Regions from separate parts of the Homo sapiens genome. Here region 1 is linked to region 2. Evidence: promoter capture Hi-C in 16 types of primary human blood cells and fetal thymus (Javierre and others, 2016). All regions are on one chromosome and are shown on one strand. The core of a region is centred on a gene start or on the middle of the fragment in contact, and the rest is flanking DNA. Distances in the headings are between cores, read along the strand shown.

Region 1 (7,469 bases), core at 767-3,266, 1.5 Mb before region 2:
AACCCACCTTGCTCTGTGTTCTCAGGCCCCCCTGCTTTTGTCTCACCAGGACCCATACCTTTCACCTTGTTCCCTTCCACCCCTCCAGTTAGTCCCTATCTGGGTAAGGGTCTTCCCTTGAGCTCCAGGGGGTGGAACCCAATGTTTACATTCTCTTCTGTCTCTGCCCCCACCCCATGCAGCGCTTTGAGGAATTGGAAAAGAACCTGCTGTTGTACCTGGGCCTGTTTTCTGCCTTGTTATTTGATGAGGGGGGGATGGGGTAAGGACGAGGGAGGGAGGGACAGAGCCAGGACCTGGGTCTCTGTTGAAGCAGTCTGCTGTCTTGGCAAGTAGGTACCTCTTAGCTTTGGGTCCATCTCTCAGTCACTCATCAGACACTGGTTGAGCTCCTGCTCCATCTTTGCCTGGGATCTGCTGTCTCCATTGTCACTGGCTGCCTGGAGCTCTCTATGTACCACGTGCAGCACCCGGATCTCCTTCCCAAAGTGCTCATGCAACTCCTGGAAGCTGGAGGGGGTACTCACAGTGGCTAGAAAGCCACTGTCCTCTGGGGATGAGATGGGTTCTTGGCCAGTTGCCTGGCACAGCTCCCAGTATTGGGTTTTGGTGGGGGGGGAGGGGGGACAGCAGCCCAGCCAGCCGCCTCCAGCTCGCGCCAGCCAGTGCCCACAGCCAAGTCTCCAGCTCTTCCTGGGTTTCTGCAGCCAGCTTGTAGGCCCGCCCACCTGTGCCCTCCACCCCAGGGGTCAGGATGGTAAAGGCATAGGGTTCTGCAGCCTTAAGGTGTGGTTCCACCTGGCAGTTCTCTAACAGGATGAGGCTCAGGGGTGCATGGTCGGTCTAGTGTTCTAGGTAGAAGAGGAGGTTTCCTCGGAGGATGAACCATCGGCGCTGGTAGCTGAGGTTTCGGGTCCCCTTCTTTAGCAGAATGCCTTCCTGGTCTGGGGCCTGTGTTCTGTAACCATGGAAGAAACTGAGCACGGACTTTCTGTGCAGTTTTCATCGTGATCCAATATGGGAGGAAACCCCTAGGGAGAGAGAAGTGGCCCATCTAGTTGCCTGGGGGAAGAGTAGGGGAACTCTCATGCTGTCCTCGTCTGGCTTCAGCACGTGCTGCCTGCGCACAGTCTTGGCTTAGGGGGATGCAGGCTCCGAGTGTCAAGAGCTAGGGGTCCCAGCACAGGGGCTGATCCCCGCTACCTCCCCAATTCCCCCTTCTGCTTGGGCCACATTCCGCTACCTGGGCAGGAGTTGCTAGGCCCTGTTTGCTCAGGGGGGCTTCATGCTGCAGAGAGGCACTGTTGCCCTTTTCCAGGCCTACCTGAGAGCAGGGCACAAGGGGCTTCTGGCCTGAGTACTGGCGCCAATGCCACCTCTCCAGTGATGGCTCTCCCACCTCAGAAACCAGGAACTCGCCCAGGGTATGGGCGTGGGACAAATTATTTCCCCTGGGTCCTAAAGGGAGGTGTGTTCAGAAAGTGCCCGGAGAGCCGTCCAGGGGCCCCAGGCTGGCCATCGGGAGAGTCAGGCTTCCCCTCGGAGAGGCAAGGCTGCACCTCTCAGGCTAGGAGGGCTGACCACTGGACCATAGGAATGGGAAGGCAGGATTTCTAACGAGACGGTAGGGGCGCTGAGCCCTTAGCCCTGGGGGAAGGGTGACTTGAACCCAGGACAGGAAAACGGAGCAGCAACCCACTGACCCTGCTCGGACTTTGCCCCTCCATCCTGACCCTGGGCGGCCCTTTAAGCAGATGCGCTCCAGTTTTTCTCCAGAGCCTCTACTGCTTGAATGACGGACTCGAAGCTACTTCCGGCCATTTCTCACGCCCAGTCAGAGTCCAGGAATTCTTAGGTTCCCTCTTCTCACCATTGTCCTCCCACGTGACTGACGTCACTTCTGGCGGGAGAGAGGGTGGAGGCGTCTTCGCTCGCTTATCGCATACTTCCGCCCGCTCTTCCAGTTAGTTCCCTAACCCGAGTGAAGCCACTTCCGGGCTTCCCGGGCGCCTTCCGCAGTCCTCTTCCGGGTGATGGCGGCCGGGTGCCCCGGATGTAGCCCTGGCGCAAGCATCTCTTCTTTTTTCCACCTCGCCTTCCGCGGATTCCCAGGTGAGTGCGCGAGGGTGGGACCGCCCGAATCCCCGTGGCCCTCTAAGTTGTACACAGCCCGGGACAGTTGGGGCTCACCACACGGAATTGGGAGTTCGGAGCAGGGAGGAACGGGGTGGCGAGAGCGCCAGGTCCTGGGTCTGCCGGGGCCCGGCGAGCTCCGAGAGAGCCAGGGTAGAGAGCGGGGGTCAGCCCGTGGAGCCGGTGGCGCGCAGACTGCGGGGGCTGGAGTTGGGGGCGGTCACGTGGTGAAGCCTGTCTCCTTTCAGCCAGGGTCGGGGGATCCAGAGGGTCCGCTCCTCCGTCCCCGCCCCGTTTAACTCGCGGATGCTAGACCCAAGTCCTGGAGGCCTCCTGGCTGCCAGCTTCCTTTCGGCCCCTGCTTTTGTGCTCCCTCCGCTCCCAAACTGTACCTGTCACAGACCAGGAAAAATGTTTGCTGTGCTGCGTCTGTTGGCGAGTCCCCTCCTCACCCGGTTCCCTTCCTCTGCATCCTTTCCTCAGCTTGAGAAACACCTCTTTGCCCCGTCATGCCAAAGAGGAAAGTGACCTTCCAAGGCGTGGGAGATGAGGAGGATGAGGATGAAATCATTGTCCCCAAGAAGAAGGTGAGGGGGCCAGACTGCTTTGTGTGGGGGAAAGAGGAGCTAGAAGCCTGAAGAGGAAGAAAGCTGGCGGGAGAGGGGCGGGGCGGGCAGGCAGAGAAAAGCCTAGTTTTTTCAGGTTCTCTGAGGAATGGGTTGGGAGCGTCTTTAGTGTGGCTCCTGAAATATTTGGGGAAGTAGTCGAGATCCTGAAATATTTGGGGAATATTTGGGTCCAGATCCGGAAGTATTTGGGGAGGTAGCCAGTAACCTGCATTTCTCAACTTTCTGGCTCCTGCTCACAGCTGGTGGACCCTGTGGCTGGGTCAGGGGGTCCTGGGAGCCGCTTTAAAGGCAAACACTCTTTGGATAGCGATGAGGAGGAGGATGATGATGATGGGGGGTCCAGCAAATATGACATCTTGGCCTCAGAGGATGTAGAAGGTAAGCTGTACCCAAGAATACACTCTGCTGGAAAAACAAGTAGGGGCCTCTGGTGGTGTGGAGCGAGGGAGGCTCCGGTCTCTTTTTTCCATGCCTGGAAAAGGGCACCTGTGTCTTTGGTGCAGGTCAGGAGGCAGCCACACTCCCCAGCGAGGGGGGTGTTCGGATCACACCCTTTAACCTGCAGGAGGAGATGGAGGAAGGCCACTTTGATGCCGATGGCAACTACTTCCTGAACCGGGATGCTCAGATCCGAGACAGCTGGCTGGACAACATTGACTGGGTGCGGCCCAGGGGCTGGCGTGGCTGGGGCCTGGGAGTGGCAGATGCTGGGCCTGCTCCCGTGGCAGTTGGTGGGAAATCACTCCATCTTCCCATTACAGGTGAAGATCCGGGAGCGGCCACCTGGCCAGCGCCAGGCCTCAGACTCGGAGGAGGAGGACAGCTTGGGCCAGACCTCAATGAGTGCCCAAGCCCTCTTGGAGGGACTTTTGGAGCTCCTATTGCCTAGAGAGACAGTGGCTGGGGCACTGAGGCGTCTGGGGGCCCGAGGAGGAGGCAAAGGGAGAAAGGGGCCTGGGCAACCCAGTTCCCCTCAGCGCCTGGACCGGCTCTCCGGGTTGGCCGACCAGATGGTGGCCCGGGGCAACCTTGGTGTGTACCAGGAAACAAGGGAACGGTTGGCTATGCGTCTGAAGGGTTTGGGGTGTCAGACCCTAGGACCCCACAATCCCACACCCCCACCCTCCCTGGACATGTTCGCTGAGGAGTTGGCGGAGGAGGAACTGGAGACCCCAACCCCTACCCAGAGAGGAGGTGAGCTTGGAGGACAGAGGAGGGGGCAGTGGGTAGGAAGTGAGACACTGGAGGCCAAATGGCTTTGCCTGTTATTTTAGAAGCAGAGTCGCGGGGAGATGGTCTGGTGGATGTGATGTGGGAATATAAGTGGGAGAACACGGGGGATGCCGAGCTGTATGGGCCCTTCACCAGCGCCCAGATGCAGGTGAGCTGCTTTCTCCCTCCTCCTGCCTTGTCCCTGCTTCCCCCACTCCTGTCAGTTGTTCCCCAGCTCTGCCCTCTCCTTGCAGACCTGGGTGAGTGAAGGCTACTTCCCGGACGGTGTTTATTGCCGGAAGCTGGACCCCCCTGGTGGTCAGTTCTACAACTCCAAACGCATTGACTTTGACCTCTACACCTGAGCCTGCTGGGGGCCCAGTTTGGTGGGCCCTTCTTTCCTGGACTTTGTGGAGGAGGCACCAAGTGTCTCAGGCAGCGAGGAAATTGGAGGCCATTTTTCAGTCAATTTCCCTTTCCCAATAAAAGCCTTTAGTTGTGTACTGGGGCCTTGGCTGTGCTGATGGCCAGAAGCCAGGGGCCTTCTCCACAGTCCCTTTGGACTTGTCTTGGTCCCTGAGTACTCCCATGAAGATCCTTCTTGGAGGTGCCTGTCAGGTATCCTGTGGCCTCCCTGCCTGGACTCTGCTTGCCGTGTAAACACCCCCAACTGCGCTGCTCTGTGCTCCTCTCCCAGGTTTCTTGTTCGATTCCTCTTAGGTCTTTGGCTTTCAGGACCTCAGATTCTTTATCCTTGTAGCCACCAGAGGACAGAGCCCCAGAAGTGGATGTTTTAGGCCCAGAAGGACCAGGGCATCGAGAAGACATTGGGACCCTGTTGGGGGTGAGCATGGAACCCTCTTACTCTCGCTTCACCCTCTCAAGCTCCTTAGATGCTGGGCAGAAGTGGGATGAGTGGCCCAAGACCGAGATCCCTAAGGTTCTGAGAGCCAGTGTCTTCCCTAATCTGGCTTTCCTCTATCCTTGCCGTCGTTCCCACAGCCCTTCAGTGAAGTGCAAACTCAGTGGCCAAGTGTGGGCCAAGTGTGCATTGTACTGGCACAGAGAGGGGCAGTGACTCACTGGAGATCACAGGAATCAAAGGGCTGGCCCAGACCCAGTGGGCTCCTTTCCCAGACCTTTCTTGGCACAAAGCCTTTGCTGCCTGGCCTTGGAGGCCCTGCGGCCTACATTCTCTGGACCCCACTATGTGCCTGGCACAGGGCTAGTGCCTTGAGGAAACTGAGGTAGCTGGGTTGGTCCCCTTCCAGGAATTCAGAGTCTGGTGGCAGGGGCATGGGAAATAGACAGATGTAATTCTATAGCCTGGGCCTGGCACCCTCCACCTCCACGCCCCACCAGCATTGCCTTACGCCTCCCTTGCCCCACGTTAGATGGTTTCTTCCGGTTTTGCACTCTGGCTGCCCCTTGGAGTCTCCTGGGGAGCTGTAATATCTCTTTGGAGATTCAGATTGAGCTGGTCTAGGTTGTGGCCCAGGCATTGGGCATTTTGGAAGCCCCCAGGTGTTTTCAGCTTGCAGCCAGGCCGAGAGAGAGCCCCTGAGTCAGATCCCCATGGTTTAGGCACACCTAGCGGGAGGGGTGGCTCCTGGACCCCACCGTGGTTGGAGAGCTGAGCATGTGTGTGGCTTTAGTGGGGTCTGTTAGTTATGGGGGTCTGGGCACTGGAGCTGCAGGACACTTGGGATCCCAGGTCAGAAAGGGCCAGATGAGCAACTAGGAAAGACTTGGGGGCCAGGGCGGAGTGGGGTCACCTGACACTCTTGTGAGGCCCCTTCTAGTGCCTGCTCACACCGGAATTTCATTCACTCCAAGAAGCCATCAGGGGTAAGATACCTTCCTTTAAACGTCACTAAGAAAGAAGAGGCCTGCCGGTGACACAGTAAGATGCCATTGATCTAAAGATGCGTCTTGATTTCAGAAAGGTCCGGAAGTGGAAAGCAGGTTTCAGGGCTGCTGAGGTACAGGGTTCTCCTGTAGGCCCCAGGGATGGTCTCAGGGGTGCTGAGTGCGTGCGTGGTAAATGGATGGAGCCCAGGGGCGCCTCCTGCCAGTGTCCTCCAGGCACTCAAACCTAGCCCTTCTGAAGCCGACCTCACGTGACCTCACAGCCCCTCCTGAAGGCGCCTCACTGATGACGGTGGGTGGAATAACAGCCCCCAGAGATGTCCAGGTTTGGAACCCCAGGACGTGGGAAAGTGTTACCTTGCGTGGCAAAAGGGACCCGGCGCCTGTGCTTCAGTTCAGGATTTCGTGGTGGGGAGATGACCGTGGATGGTTGAGGTGGGCCCTGAGTAATCATGGGGGCCCTTATAAGGGAAGGGGAGTCACGAGGGTCTGCGCATGAAGCAAGGAAGCTTCTGGCTGTGAAGATGGCAAGAAGGCCTGGGGCCAGGCGATGAGGTGGCCCCTGGAGGAGCTGGAAAAGGCATTGGATTCTGCCCCAGAGCCTCCGTGGAGAAACAAAGCCGCACTGACAAGACTTCAGCCTGGTGAAAACCATTTTGGACTCCTGACCTCTAGAACTGTAAGATAATAAATTGGTGTGGTTTTCAACCTCTCAGTTTGTGGTAATTTGTTAACAGCCCCAATAGGAAACAACTACTCATGCATCCAGGGGACACCTCATGAACCACCCGATCTCACTAAGTTCTCCCTTCCTGTGACCACATTGCTATTTCAGGTCCCTGTCAGCACTTATAAATGTGGCTGCCTCTTGCTAGGGTGGCCTTTATAGCACATCTGAAACAGCACTCCTTGGCTTTTTGTTTGTTTTGTTTTTAGAGACAGGGTGTTACTGTCACCCAGTAGGGGTGACAACATCTCTCTACACTGGAGTACAGTGGTGTGATCATAGCTCAATGCAGCCTTGAACTCCTGGGTTCAAGTGATCCTCCCACCTCAGCCTCCTAAGTAGCTGGGTCTACAGGAGTGCACCACTTCACCTGGCTAATTAAGAAACTTTTTTTTGTAGTGGCAGGGTCTTGCTATGTTGCCCAGGCTAGTCTCAAACTCCTGCACTCAACCGATCCTCCCAGATCAGCCTCCCAAAGTGCTGGGGTTACAGGTGTGGGCTACTGTGCCCAGTGTGCTTTTCTTTTTTAGTTGTGTGTGTATATATGCAGTTTATATGTATACAGTTTGTAAGAGATACATATAGATAGATAGATAGATATAAACTTTTTGTTTGAGTAAGTTTTTTTTTTTTTTTTTTTGAGATGGAGTTTCGCTCTTGTTGCCGGGCTGGAGTGCAAATGGCACGATCTCAGCTCACTGCAACCTCTGCCTCCTGGGTTCAAGGGATTGTCCTGCCTCAGTCTCCCGAGTAGCTGGGGCTACAGGCACCTGCCACCACGCTTCAGTACCCTTCAGTGGTTTTTTGTATATTCACAGGGTTGTGCAACCATCACCACAGTCTAATTTTAAAACCTTTTTTTCCTACCATGAAAGAAACCTGACCCATGAGTAGCCCCT
Region 2 (7,406 bases), core at 468-2,967:
AGGGCAAAAGCTCCAGGAGTGCAGCTTTGGAACTACCTAGCTCAGGTACATTACCTCCCAAACAGAAAAGACAATCATTTTCAGCAGCCTGACGCCTCAAAACTGTGGGAGGAGGGGTATCCCCTCCACACCCCATCCCCTCGACCTCATGACTCATTCAGCCCGTTACCCACTCTGCGGGGATCACCAATCGCCAGGTAACCCTGCTCGTCGCTGGCTGATGTAACCGGCGGTTGAGGGCGAAGAGGGGGCCGCTGGCGGGGCTGGGGGACAGCGCAGCCGCAAAAGCCATCCACCGGGAGGCCTCGCCCGGTCTGCGCCTGCGCACTAAAACCCACGGGACTTTCCGAACCCCCACCTCCAGCGATCAGAGCCCACTGCGCCTGCGTGTGCTGCCACTCTTAATTCCATTAACACACACACACTCGCACAGGAAAAACTGAGCAGGGCCTCCACTACTCATGCACTGCCACCAGACGAGCCCCTCCACGAACTAGTCCCTGCCCTAGGTGTTCCCGGGGCGCGCGAATGCCCGGGTCATGAGACCGAGCATCCACGCGCACGTACGGGAAGGGGGCGCGCGCGCCAGAGGCTCCCGGCCCGCAGTCCTCCCAGTCATCCCTCCTTCCGTCCCCCCGCCCACCTCGCTCCCCTCCTACTGGCCAGACCGGGAAGGGGGAGGCAGCAACCCGCTCCCAAGTCCCTCCCTCCCCATTGGCCAAACTGTGGGCCGCGCGCCCCCCTCCATTGGCTACGGCCGGGGACCCCTTCCCGCAGCAGACTCCCCATTGGCTGAAGCCGGGGACCGCGAGACCCTTCGTGGTAATGGAACCGGGGACCCCGATCAGCTCCTTGCCCCCCCCCAACTCCCCGTTCCGACGGCGCCGGCGGGATGCGCCCCGCCTCCCCTGAAGGCCGGGGCTGCGAGCCCTGACTAGGCCCCGAGAGCCGAGCGCGGCCCCTCAGTGCTCCGGTGGCCGCCCGGGGACCCTTTCCGTCCGACCTGTTCGGACCTGAGGGGGCCCTCCCCCAGCTTCACGGGGACTCCCCACCCAGCCGGTGCCCCTGACGGTGCCGGGTCGGGGTCCGCCCCACCGGAACCGAGCCACAGCCTCTGGGTGGCCGCGGCTCCCTCGCCCGGAGCCCACCCTTCTCACCTGGCGCTGCCGATGGCGGCTGCCCCCGGCCTCTCCTGGTGTTGCTGCGGCGGCGGCGGCTGCGGCGCCAAGATGCCTTCGGCTCCCCGGCGGAGCCCGCTCCCGGCAGCGGCCACAGGCCCCAGGCAGGGGGAGGCGGCCGCTGGAGGCCCGGGAGGAGCCGCAGAGGTGGCCAGCGGCCCCGGGAGGCCGCCGTTGGGAGGGCTGGTGCCCCCGGGGGGCCGACGGGCCACGGCCTGTTGCGTGGGGGGCGGCTGCTGGGGCTGGGAGGGCTGTTGTAGCGGCTGAGGCTTCAACATGATGGCAGCGTCCGGAAGGGGAATTAGAGAGAAGGGAGGGAGAGAGGGGGCCGGGGCTGGGGCCCCGCTGGAGAGCGCGGGAAGCGAGGGGGATCGGGCAGCCGGGGCCCGCCGTGGGCGGGCGGGGGGAGCCCCGCGGTGTCGGGGGTGGAGAGAGAAGACCGCGGCGCGAGGAAGCGCCGCGAGGCGGAAGGGGAGGGGGTCTCGCGGCTGGAGGAAAGCGAGAGGGCGCGAGCCGGGCTGGCGCGCGTGCGCGTCGCCGGGGAGCGGAGAGGGAGGAGCGCGCGGGTGGGAGCTCCCGGGGGGGGGGGGGGGGGGGGGGGGCCAGGAGCGAGCAGTGGCGCGAGGTGCCGCGCACACCGGCGCGGTTAGCTCCCGGCGGGAAAGTGGGAGAGAATCAAGTCGGTGAACCTCGCACCCCTAGCCCTGGGAGTGGGTAAGGAGCGGCGCGGGCGCTCACGCGCGCCAAGGATTTAGGGTCTTAAGGTCTCAAACCGCCTTAGAAGCCGGCGGCCGCTGTCGCTTCACAATGAGCGTGTGAGGCGCAGGGGGAGGAGCCGAAGGCGCCAGAGGAAGGGCCGGCCTCTCCGCCCACGCCGTCGCTGCGTCGCGATGCCTCCGCGGGAGTGTGAGGCGGCACGTCGTGCGTGAGGCTCTTCCGCCACTTGGCGGCCCGTGGGCAGAGCCTTAAGTGCCAAGAAAGTCTCCGGGACTGGACCACCCGAGCCACTGCGCTTTTAGGCAGGTGGTAGGTTTCGCAAGGAGCTACCCTCCACCTTGTTTGCTTTAAGTAAAAGACTGATGAGCATTAGTGATTCGTTTGAGCGTGTTGATCTTTGCAGATAAATTTACGCCTCGTCCTAAATTATTTCAGATTTTTGTGATTTTGACCTAAATTGTTCCTCCATGCCCGAGAATGAATCTTTAAACTGTAATAACAAAGACTGAAGGCCAAAGTTCCGAGTTCAAAATCCTCCACCCGACCCTGCAATGAAGGCAGCTTCATTCATTCAAAATGAGTTGGGCATTGGAGTATTCAGTTAGTTGTTTTGGACACAAGGATAATTAAACTGCTTCCTGCTCTGGAGGAGTTCATGCTAGTGGTGAATTCAGAGAATTTGACGAGATCTAGTAGGTGAAGCACAGAGGACTACAAGAGCAAATGGGAGTGACACCTAATCTTAATCCAGTTTTGGGAGACCCAGATAAGGGACAGGAGGGCCGGGCGCAGTGGCTCATACCTGTAATCCTAACATTTTGGGAGTCCGAGGCAGAAGGATCGTTTAAGGCCAGGAGTTTGAGACCAGCCTAGGCAACAAAGTGAGACTTTGTCTCTACAAAAAAAAAAAAATTTAAATTATAAAAAAAAACTGATAAGAGGGCAGGGGGAGATGGGTTTCTAGGCAGGGAAATAGGATATGACAAACTAAGAAAAACTCAGCTTGTCCTAAGCATAAAATTAAAGGGGGGAAGAGGTAGCTAATCTGGGATCAGGTTTTAAAGGCTCCCAAGTCTTGTAAGAGACACGGACATTATCCTCAAAGCAGTGGGGAGCTTATTTAAGAAAGTGAAAAGAGGCTGGGCATGGTCTGTAATCCCAGTACTTTGGGAGGTTTGAGGTCAGGAGTTTGAGATCAGCCTGGCCAACATGGTGAAACCCTGTCTCTACTAAAAATGCAAAAATTAGCTAGGCGTGGTGGTGCATGCCTGTAATCCCAGCTACTCAGGAGGCTGAGGCAGGAGAATCACTTGAACCAAGGAGGCGGAGGTTGCCGTGAGCCCAGATCGCACCACTGCACTCCAGCCTGGGTGACAGAGCAAGACTCCTTCCCCCCAAAACAAACAAAAAAACAAGTGAAAAGAGGTCAGATTTGCATTTTTAAAGGTTTACTCTTTGCAACGTGGAGAATGGAGTGGAGCTGTTAAGTCCATGTGGTCTTAATCCCAGCGAAACTCTCAATGTCTCAATCTCTTCGCTCTAAATGTTAGCATTGGAACTCTTCCCAGCCCCTGCACCAAACACATGCACACCTAGCTACAACACTGCCTTACTTTTTGGGTAATAGTCCTTCGCCCTGCCTCGCTCCTGCCTTCAGATGTGCTAGTTTCCCCTCCTGTGTGCTCGCCGAGCAATTTATCCCACTGTATTCTAACAGCTCCTTTAATTCTGTCTTCCTGCTAATGTCAGCTCCCTAAGGGTTAGGATCTTGACTTATTTCTTGCTCTGCAGTACTCTAGCACACTGCAGGCACTCAATGAAATATCTGTAAGGTGAGTGGATCCAAATGATGTTTTTTTGTTTGTTTTTGAGATGGAGTTTTGTTCTTATTGCCCAGGCTGGAGTGCAATGGCGCGATCTCGGCTCACCACAACCTCCGCCTCCCGGGTTCAAGCGTTTCTCCTGCCTCAGCCTCTTGAGTACCTGGGATTACAGTCATGCACCACCACACCCGGCTAATTTTGTATTTTTAGTGGAGACGGGGTTTCTCCATGTTGGTCAGGCTGATCTTGAACTCCCGACCTCAGGTGATCCACCCGCCTCGACCTCCGAAAGTGCTGGGATTACAGGCATGAGCCACCACGCCCAGCCCAAATGGTGTTTTAAAGGTCATCATGTCTCCTGGGTTCCCTAACAAACACAGTCCAGCTTTTTCCTGGCATTACCTGGACCACCTGATGCCATGCCACCTCTCTACCCTCATTGACAGATTGTGAGCACTGAGCACTCTAACCCCCTTCCATCTACCCCATCCTGCTCCACACTCAAATTCTGAGTTTTAGCCCCATGAAACTTCTTTCTCCATAGCTTGCCTTGCCCTTGCTAGTGGCAGCTAATTTGCATGGGGTCTACAGCAACCTCAATTCTTGCCTCCTCAGAAGAAAGAATTCCACCAAGGGGCATAAGGCAGAGGGAGAGACAGAGGCAAGTTTTAGAGCAGGAGTGAACGTTTATTAAAAAGTTTTAGAGCAGGAATGAAAGGAAGTAAAGTACACTTGGAAGAGGGCCAGGCGTGAATGACTTGACAGATTCAAGTCCCTGGTTTGACCTTTGACTTGGGGTTTCATATGCTGGCATGCTTCCAGGGATTTACGGTTTGCATCTCTTCTCCCCTGATTCCTACCTTGGCATGGGCTGTCCACATGCACGGTGGCCTGCCAGCACTTGGAGGGGCCACAAGCACAGTGTGTTCAGTATACTGAAGTGCACATGCTCACTTAAGACGTTCTTCCCTTACAGATCTAGCATTCCTGGAGGAAGGGCATGTACCATTAAACTCCGCCATTTTGCCTCTTGGTGCATAAGCTTGAGCCCATTTACCCAACTTCTGAGATCTTATCGAGAAGCTGCTGATCATCAGTTTCAAGTGTTTTCCATCTATTTGGAGACTGCCTTTCCCTGGTGCTGGCTGCAACCAATTACTATTTTAGAGACAAGTTTAACAACCACCTGACCATCACCTGATGGTTGCCTAACATTCCTGGTGGTGGGGTTGGGGCAGCACTCCTGCCCCAACAATGGGAATGTTGTCTTATCGTGTGCAATTTAAAAATTATATCACTATGGCCAGGCTCAGTGGCTCACGCCTGTAATCCCAGCACTTTGGGAGGCCGAGGTGGTTGGATCGTGAGGTCAGGAGTTCGAGACCAGCCTGGCCAATATGGTGAAACCCCGTCTCTACTAATAATACAAAAATTAGCTGGGTGTGGTGGCTCACGCCTGTAGTCCCAGCTACTCGGGAGCCTGAGGCAGAAGAATCGCTTGAACCCGGGAGGTGGAGGTTGCAGTGAGCCAAGATCATGCCACTGCACTCCAGCCTGGATGACAGAGCCAGACTCCATCTCATAAAAAAAAAAAAAAAAAAAAAAAGAAAAGAAAAAGAAAGCAAACTTCAAAAGACTGTGCTACCTTTTGTATACTGTGCTACCTTTTGTATAAGGAAGAAGGGGAAATATGAAGACATAAATGTATCTGCAGGTTTTTGCCAAGAAAAACAAAGTATAAACCAGAAACTCATCAAATTGATTACCTGTGATGGGGGGATGGGGGAAAATGAGGATTGCTTGAGCTCAGGAGGTCCTGGCTGCAGTGAGCCGTGATCTCGCCACTGCACTCCAGCCTGAGCGACAGAGCGAGACCCTATCTCAAAATAAAAACAAAACAGACAGTATGGGGAAAATTGATAAATTTGGAATATAGACTACAAAGTATTGCATCCATGATAAATTTCCTGAATGTGTTATGACTCTACTGGAGATATGGAAGGATGTATTCTTTTTTGTGGTTGTTGAGACAGGGTCTCGCTCTTGTCACCCAGGCTGGAGTGCAGCAGTGGGGTCTTGGCTCAATGCAGCCTCCACCTCCCAGGCTCAAGAGATCCTCCCACCTCAGTCTCCCAAGTAGTTGTGGCTGGAACTATAGGTGTGCACCACCACGCCCAGCTAATTTTTTGTTTCTTGGTTTTTTTTTCTTTTGGTAAAGATGGGGTTTTGCTGTGTTGCCCATGCTGGTCTTGAACTGCTGGCCTCAAGCTATCCACCTGCCTCTGCCTCCCAAAGTGTTGGGATCACAGATGTGAGCCACCATGTCCGGCCAGGGTGTTTTTTTGTTTTGTTTTGTTTTTTGTTTTTTGAGACAGAGTCTCCCTCCCTCTTGTCACCCAGGCTGCAGTGCAGTGGTGAGATCCCAGCTCACTGCAACCTCCGCCTCCTGGGTTCAAGTGATTCTCCTGCCTCAGCCTCCCGAGTAGCTGGGATTACAGGCGTGTGCCACCACGCCTGGCTAATTTTGTATTTTTAGTAGAGAGGGGGTTTCTCCATGTTAGTCAGGCTGGTCTTGAACTCCTGACCTCAGGTGATCCACCCTCCTTGGCCTCCCAAAGTGCTGGGATTACAGGCGTGAGCCACTGCGCCCGGCCTAATTTTTGTATTTTTAGTAGATACGGGGTTTCACCACATTAGCCAGGCTGGTCTTGAACTCCTGACCTCAAGTGATCTGCCCACCTTGGCCTCCCAAAGTGCTGGGATTACAGGCGTGAGCCACCAAGCCCAGCCCAGGGTATATTCTTAGTAAATATATAAAGAAGTATGATGGGGCAACAGAGTGTGATAGATGCAACCTACTCTCAAATGTTTCCAAAAGGCCAGGTGTGGTGGCTCATGCCTGTAATCTCAGCACTTTGGGAGGCTGAGGTGGGTGGATCATTTGAGGTCAGGAGCTCGAGACCAGCCTGGCCAACATGGTGAAACCCTGTCTCTACTAAAATACAAAAAATTAGCCAGGCGTAGTGGTGCGCGCCTGTAGTTCCAGCTACTCGGGAGGCTGAGGCAGGGGAATCGCTTGAACCCGGGAGGTGGAGATTGCAGTGAGCCGAGATCTTGCCACTGCACTCCAGCCTGGCAACAGAATGAGTCTCACACACAAACAAGGTTTCCAAAAAAAGCATATATATATATATATATATACACATACACACACATATATATGTATAATATACACACAGAAAGAGAAAATGCAAATGTGGCAAAATATTAACAACTGGTGAATCTGGGTAAATGTTATCCTGACGTTCTAGACTTTCCTGGAAACGCTAGCCTTTTAACATCTCTGTACATTTGAAATTGTTTCAAAATAAAGAATTTGAAGCCCAGGCATGGTGGCTCACACCTGTAATCCCAGCACTTTGGTAGGCCGAGGTGGGCAGATCACCCGAGGTCAGGAGTTCAAGACCAGCCTGAGCAACATGGATAAACCCCATCTCTACTAAAAATACAAAATTAGCTGGGCATGGTGGCGCATGCCTGTAATCCCAGCTACTCGGGAGGCTGAGGCAGGAGAATCGCTTGAACCTGGGACACAGAGGTTGCGATGAGCCGAGATCGTGCCATTGCACTCCAGCCTGGGCAACAAGAGTGAAACTCTGTCTCAAAAAAAAAAAAGAATTTGCACATA

The links. Contacts are between HindIII fragments. The CHiCAGO score rates a contact against its expected background, and 5 or more counts as called.
Region 1: a contact is called between the fragment with the promoter of CD2BP2 here and the fragment with the promoter of ATXN2L in region 2, in 1 of 17 cell types (monocytes). The highest score is 7.3, in monocytes.

The regions. Positions count from the first base shown.
Region 1 is chr16:30,349,855-30,357,323 of GRCh38, reverse strand. It overlaps CD2BP2 (CD2 cytoplasmic tail binding protein 2), which reads left to right and starts at 2,016. Exons shown (of 7, transcript NM_006110.3): 1 at 2,016-2,112; 2 at 2,617-2,720; 3 at 3,002-3,140; 4 at 3,266-3,423; 5 at 3,524-3,956; 6 at 4,037-4,143; 7 at 4,229-6,551. The coding sequence starts at 2,643. The coding sequence ends at 4,339. It overlaps CD2BP2-DT (CD2BP2 divergent transcript), which reads right to left and starts at 1,890. Exons shown (of 2, transcript NR_184233.1): 1 at 1,704-1,890; 2 at 1-1,031. TBC1D10B (TBC1 domain family member 10B) reads left to right here. Exons shown (of 9, transcript NM_015527.4): 9 at 1-222. RefSeq lists enhancers at 1,845-1,904, 1,985-2,044, 1,099-2,050, 1,782-2,076, 1,767-2,966 and 1 more. The HindIII fragment of the contact is 7,065 bases long and covers 1-6,354 here.
Region 2 is chr16:28,817,310-28,824,715 of GRCh38, reverse strand. It overlaps ATXN2L (ataxin 2 like), which reads right to left and starts at 1,717. Exons shown (of 22, transcript NM_007245.4): 1 at 1,158-1,717. The coding sequence starts at 1,456. LOC124903672 (a long non-coding RNA gene) reads left to right here and starts at 674. Exons shown (of 2, transcript XR_007065042.1): 1 at 674-822; 2 at 4,695-5,625. RefSeq lists a silencer at 511-1,660 and enhancers at 1,981-2,190, 1,702-2,438. The HindIII fragment of the contact is 7,883 bases long and covers 1-4,762 here.